Regions from separate parts of the Homo sapiens genome. Here region 2 is linked to region 1. The links are contacts of gene promoters, found by promoter capture Hi-C in human tissues and cell types (Jung and others, 2019). All regions are on one chromosome and are shown on one strand. The core of a region is centred on a gene start or on the middle of the fragment in contact, and the rest is flanking DNA. Distances in the headings are between cores, read along the strand shown.

Evidence for each region. Contacts are between HindIII fragments. The study calls those that stand out against the background at their distance.
Region 2: a contact is called between a fragment that was not itself captured here and the fragment with the promoter of FUT4 in region 1, in 1 of the 25 tissues and cell types used here (H1 embryonic stem cells).

What each region holds. Positions count from the first base shown.
Region 1 is chr11:94,542,557-94,545,577 of GRCh38, forward strand. It overlaps FUT4 (fucosyltransferase 4), which reads left to right and starts at 1,365. Exons shown (of 1, transcript NM_002033.4): 1 at 1,365-3,021. The coding sequence starts at 1,578. PIWIL4-AS1 (PIWIL4 antisense RNA 1) reads right to left here. Exons shown (of 5, transcript NR_135093.1): 5 at 2,776-3,021. RefSeq lists a silencer at 1,553-2,122 and an enhancer at 2,942-3,021. The HindIII fragment of the contact is 7,218 bases long and covers 1-3,021 here.
Region 2 is chr11:95,005,368-95,008,118 of GRCh38, forward strand. No RefSeq gene overlaps it. Among named protein-coding and RNA genes, the nearest start is that of KDM4E, 19 kb to the right of the region's middle. The HindIII fragment of the contact is 4,646 bases long and covers 1-2,751 here.

The DNA.
Region 1 (3,021 bases), core at 115-2,614:
AGGCTGTGGCCCTGCAGAGAGCGCCACCCGGAAGCCACTTTTATAGAAGCTTTTACACACAATGCTTGATTTTTTTTTTTTTTTTTCCGAGACGGAGTCTCGCTTTGTCGCCCAGGCTGGAGTGCAGTGGCGCGATCTGGGCTCACTGCAAGCTCCGCCTCCTGGGTTGACGCCATTCTCCTGCCTCAGCTTCCCGAGTAGCTGGGACTACAGGCGCCCGCCACCAAGCCTGGCTAATTTTTTTTTATTTTTAGTGGAGACAGAGTTTCACCGTGTTAGCCAGGATGGTCTCGATCTCCTGACCTCGGGATCCGCCCGCCTCGGCCTCCCAAAGTGCTGGGAGTATAGGCGTGAGCCACCGCGCCTGGCCTATACTTGATTTTTAATGAAAACATTCTTAAATTCATATGGCTAACGCAAATTTATTTTCTGTAGGCATAACATCAAAAACACCTGGCAGGATTGCCCCATTCCCAGCACTGTCTATTTCTCCCCTAGTATCAGTGGGACTCCACTGATGCACAGCTGTGATCTACTAAAACTTCTCTCAAAACTTTCTCCTCTCCTTAGGTCAGCAGCCCCGCCCCTGATCTATTTGGAAATCCCCTGAATAAAAGTTGAATATCATAAACCAAAGCGAACACCCAGAAATTCAAATTCAACCCGTAGGTAAAAAATTTCTCAAGTGACTGTAGACGTAGATGTCTCCAGTGTCGCCTAATAAGGTAGAAGAGGCCAGTGCGATACTGTCTTTACACCCTTAACTTGGGTGCTAGAATATTTATCTTCGTCATCATTTTATCATCCAAACTATTTTGCATAACTTTCATGGGTGCAGAAAATGTTTTTTAAGTGCTTGGTAAAATTAATAGTGATATTCATTCATTCATCTCACTGAACAGGCAATAAATTCCTTGACGACAAGGGCCTTGGGGGGGTCACATCTTCATCTTTGGTTTATGAGTCCTGTGCGTCTTGGTACAAGCAATACTACTATGAGCCGGCAAGTCAGACTTATTTGGTAGGGGACCAAAGGAAAGAACATGTTTTGATTGCTAAGAAAACATTTTGTTCTCTATCCTTTACTGGGCTGGCAGGCAAAGGAAATGTTCTTATGAGCACTCACATTGAAAACTTAAGTTCTTCACCAAATGCAGAGACTCTGAAGGCCACGCCGCTGCGGGCTGCCTCCACAATTCGACCGTCTCGGCGGGCCACGAGATCCTGGCCACGGATGCGGTGGCCGCGCCTCTGCTCGCACGTTCCCCCGGCCTCTGGACTCCCTCCCTCCCTCAATCCCTCCCTCCGGCGGGCGTCGCTGGCGGGTGGCTAGGCCCAACGGCAGGAAGCCGACGCTATCCTCCGTTCCGCGGCGCCGGGTCCGCCTTCCGTCTGTTCTAGGGCCTGCTCCTGCGCGGCAGCTGCTTTAGAAGGTCTCGAGCCTCCTGTACCTTCCCAGGGATGAACCGGGCCTTCCCTCTGGAAGGCGAGGGTTCGGGCCACAGTGAGCGAGGGCCAGGGCGGTGGGCGCGCGCAGAGGGAAACCGGATCAGTTGAGAGAGAATCAAGAGTAGCGGATGAGGCGCTTGTGGGGCGCGGCCCGGAAGCCCTCGGGCGCGGGCTGGGAGAAGGAGTGGGCGGAGGCGCCGCAGGAGGCTCCCGGGGCCTGGTCGGGCCGGCTGGGCCCCGGGCGCAGTGGAAGAAAGGGACGGGCGGTGCCCGGTTGGGCGTCCTGGCCAGCTCACCTTGCCCTGGCGGCTCGCCCCGCCCGGCACTTGGGAGGAGCAGGGCAGGGCCCGCGGCCTTTGCATTCTGGGACCGCCCCCTTCCATTCCCGGGCCAGCGGCGAGCGGCAGCGACGGCTGGAGCCGCAGCTACAGCATGAGAGCCGGTGCCGCTCCTCCACGCCTGCGGACGCGTGGCGAGCGGAGGCAGCGCTGCCTGTTCGCGCCATGGGGGCACCGTGGGGCTCGCCGACGGCGGCGGCGGGCGGGCGGCGCGGGTGGCGCCGAGGCCGGGGGCTGCCATGGACCGTCTGTGTGCTGGCGGCCGCCGGCTTGACGTGTACGGCGCTGATCACCTACGCTTGCTGGGGGCAGCTGCCGCCGCTGCCCTGGGCGTCGCCAACCCCGTCGCGACCGGTGGGCGTGCTGCTGTGGTGGGAGCCCTTCGGGGGGCGCGATAGCGCCCCGAGGCCGCCCCCTGACTGCCGGCTGCGCTTCAACATCAGCGGCTGCCGCCTGCTCACCGACCGCGCGTCCTACGGAGAGGCTCAGGCCGTGCTTTTCCACCACCGCGACCTCGTGAAGGGGCCCCCCGACTGGCCCCCGCCCTGGGGCATCCAGGCGCACACTGCCGAGGAGGTGGATCTGCGCGTGTTGGACTACGAGGAGGCAGCGGCGGCGGCAGAAGCCCTGGCGACCTCCAGCCCCAGGCCCCCGGGCCAGCGCTGGGTTTGGATGAACTTCGAGTCGCCCTCGCACTCCCCGGGGCTGCGAAGCCTGGCAAGTAACCTCTTCAACTGGACGCTCTCCTACCGGGCGGACTCGGACGTCTTTGTGCCTTATGGCTACCTCTACCCCAGAAGCCACCCCGGCGACCCGCCCTCAGGCCTGGCCCCGCCACTGTCCAGGAAACAGGGGCTGGTGGCATGGGTGGTGAGCCACTGGGACGAGCGCCAGGCCCGGGTCCGCTACTACCACCAACTGAGCCAACATGTGACCGTGGACGTGTTCGGCCGGGGCGGGCCGGGGCAGCCGGTGCCCGAAATTGGGCTCCTGCACACAGTGGCCCGCTACAAGTTCTACCTGGCTTTCGAGAACTCGCAGCACCTGGATTATATCACCGAGAAGCTCTGGCGCAACGCGTTGCTCGCTGGGGCGGTGCCGGTGGTGCTGGGCCCAGACCGTGCCAACTACGAGCGCTTTGTGCCCCGCGGCGCCTTCATCCACGTGGACGACTTCCCAAGTGCCTCCTCCCTGGCCTCGTACCTGCTTTTCCTCGACCGCAACCCCGCGGTCT
Region 2 (2,751 bases), core at 11-2,510, 460 kb after region 1:
TGTCTTGCTCTGTCACCCAGGCTAGAGTGCAGTGACCCAATCATAGTTCACTGAAGCCTCAACCTCCTGGGCTCAAGTGATCCTCCCACCTCAGCCTACTGAGTAGCTGGGACTACTCCCATCACACCCAGCTAATTTTTTACATTTGTAGAGATGGAGTCTCGCTATGTAGCAATCCTCCTGCGTCTGCCTCCCCAAATTCAGGGATTACAGGCATGAGCCATCATGTCCAGCCAGAGTGAGCAATTTTGAACTGTTTTATATCAGCATTTTGTAGATGAAGCCCATTTCATAATTTTAGAAAAATGTTTCCTCATAATACAATCCCTTTTATGTTTATTAATGCCCAGATACACCTAGCTTCTTTACATCATATAAAAAGATGTATCACTAGCAGAATTTATCTATTTTCAAACATTAACCTGTGATACTAGCACTATGTCTAATAAATGACATAGTGTCATAGCACTATGTCTAATAAATGACACTATGACAGATAAATGACAACAAAAATGGCTGACATGAGTTCAATTCAACCATTCATCTATTTGCAGATACTAACACAGAACACAGGGAGTGAATAATACTTTTTCTTCATAGCACTTAAAAAATGATTAATTTTCTGACTTATACTGCGTACATGTGTACATCTAGTTCTTCTGTGACACTGCATGATGGAAGAAACTACATCTACCTTGTTTGCCATTACTTCCCTGGCCCTGGTAGGATGTTACACATACTAAATGGTCAAATATCAGTTAAATAAATGAATATGGCCATGCATTGATTATCAGCCTCAACCAGCTCATCATTTCATTACTCAGTGTTTTCCAACTAGTTAAGACACATTCCATATTTTCTGAATGAAAGCAGTGAACGGTTATTTTCTCTTCATTACAATTTCTAGTAGCCTACCCCAATCATTAAAGCTAATTGAGAAATTCCCCACTAGTCAGTATCACATTTATCCTCTCTTCATCGGAGACCCTTCTTCCAAAACACAAAATCAGAATGGTTGAGCAGCATATTTCAGCATTTTAATTTACTTTAAAAGGGCTCAGAAACCATGTCAAGTTCATCCACAAACTTCCATCCCATTTATACTCCTCCTAATTTACTCATTCTAAACAATTATGCTTAAATTGCTCATTAAACAAAGCCAGCATTGAAGAAATTTAGGTAATGCTACCCTAAAAATATATTGCTTTATTATAGTGATTATTTTGAGCTGCAGGAACTTGAAAAACACAAGATGCAAGGCTCTCTGAGGGTCCCTCCATCTGCCTTAAGATAGCTTTTACAAAAGAAACTCAATTGTCATTAATCCTCTGAAAATTAACTCATTGCGGGAAAGGAGACTTCACCACACCCAGACAGACCTTGTTACAAACCATCATCTATCCTTCTAAGGGTCTATTCATCTTTCTCAAAATCTATTTATCTGAGGATATTTTCTTCAACCCCTGAGCGTTTTATTCATTTCAGCAAAAGACTTTAGTCAAAGGGTCCTTGTAATTTCCTTGACTGATGAGCCTAATTATTGTTGGTTAGGTTGTCATTGCATCAGATTTCAGGCCTAAACACCATTACCTCTTGAGAAAAAGAAAAGCATATAGGAAGCCTAGTTAGGACAAAATGGTCAAAGGTGAGACTCCTTACACAGACCTAAGTCTTTGACTTCTCCATTCTAAAAAGCTTCCAGTGATTTAATCGTCCTTCTCCTTCAGGTGCAGAGAAGGAGACTCCCTTACAAATGGAGATATACTTTTTAAATTTTTCTTACAACCAAGAAAGAGTTTGGAGGTGCAGAGCAAAGATCATTACAACACAGATCGTTGGCAGTGCATATAGTCAGCAGGGGACTGAGAAGAGAGATTTTAGTTGACTAAGAGGTTCCCATGGGAGAAGCAGGATCAACTAGAGAAAAGGTTCCTATGGGAGAAGCGGGAGCAAATAGAGAAGTAAAAGCAGAGAGGACTAATTAAATAAGTTGATTATTGCCCCAGCAGCAAAATCTTTAGGAGTTTCCTTTAGAGGGGAAATTTAGAGGGGAAATCCAGGCCAAAATGAGTGGATAAAGTAGACACTTTCTTTTCCAGTGGCATGACTGTTTACAATAAAGTCACACATACCAGGGCACAGGGATTTTTTAGTTTAGAAATCCTTGGTTTTGGTTCAAAATATGTACAAGAACCCTCTTGGACACTGTAGCTATTGAAGCTGTAAAAACATGCACCTGTTTGCCTTTTGTAAGGAGGCAACTTTTGATACATTTAATCTTTTAGATGCCAATGAAATAAATAAAAATGCCCAATAGTTTGCAAATCTTTTCTCCCATTCTGTAGGATTAATTTCAAAAGATACAGAAAAGCACTCAATTAAATTCAACAGGGTGTCTCTTCAGTTTGTTAATTGTTTCCTTTCCTATGCAGGAGCTTTTTAATTTGATATAACCTCATTTGTCTACTTTTGCTTTAGTTGCTTGTGCTTTTAAGATCTTACTCAGGAAATTTTTGCCCAGACCAATGTTCCAAAGTATTTCTCCAATTTTTTTCTAGTAGTTTTATAGTTTCAGGTCACACATTTAAGTCTTTAATCCATTTTGATTTGATTTTTGTGTATGGTGAGAGATGGGGCATAATTTCAATCTTCCACTTTTGGATATCCAGTTTTCCCAGCACCATTTATTGAAGAGTGTGTTCTTTCTCCAATGCACATTCTTATTGCCTTTGTTGAAAATGAGCTGGCTGT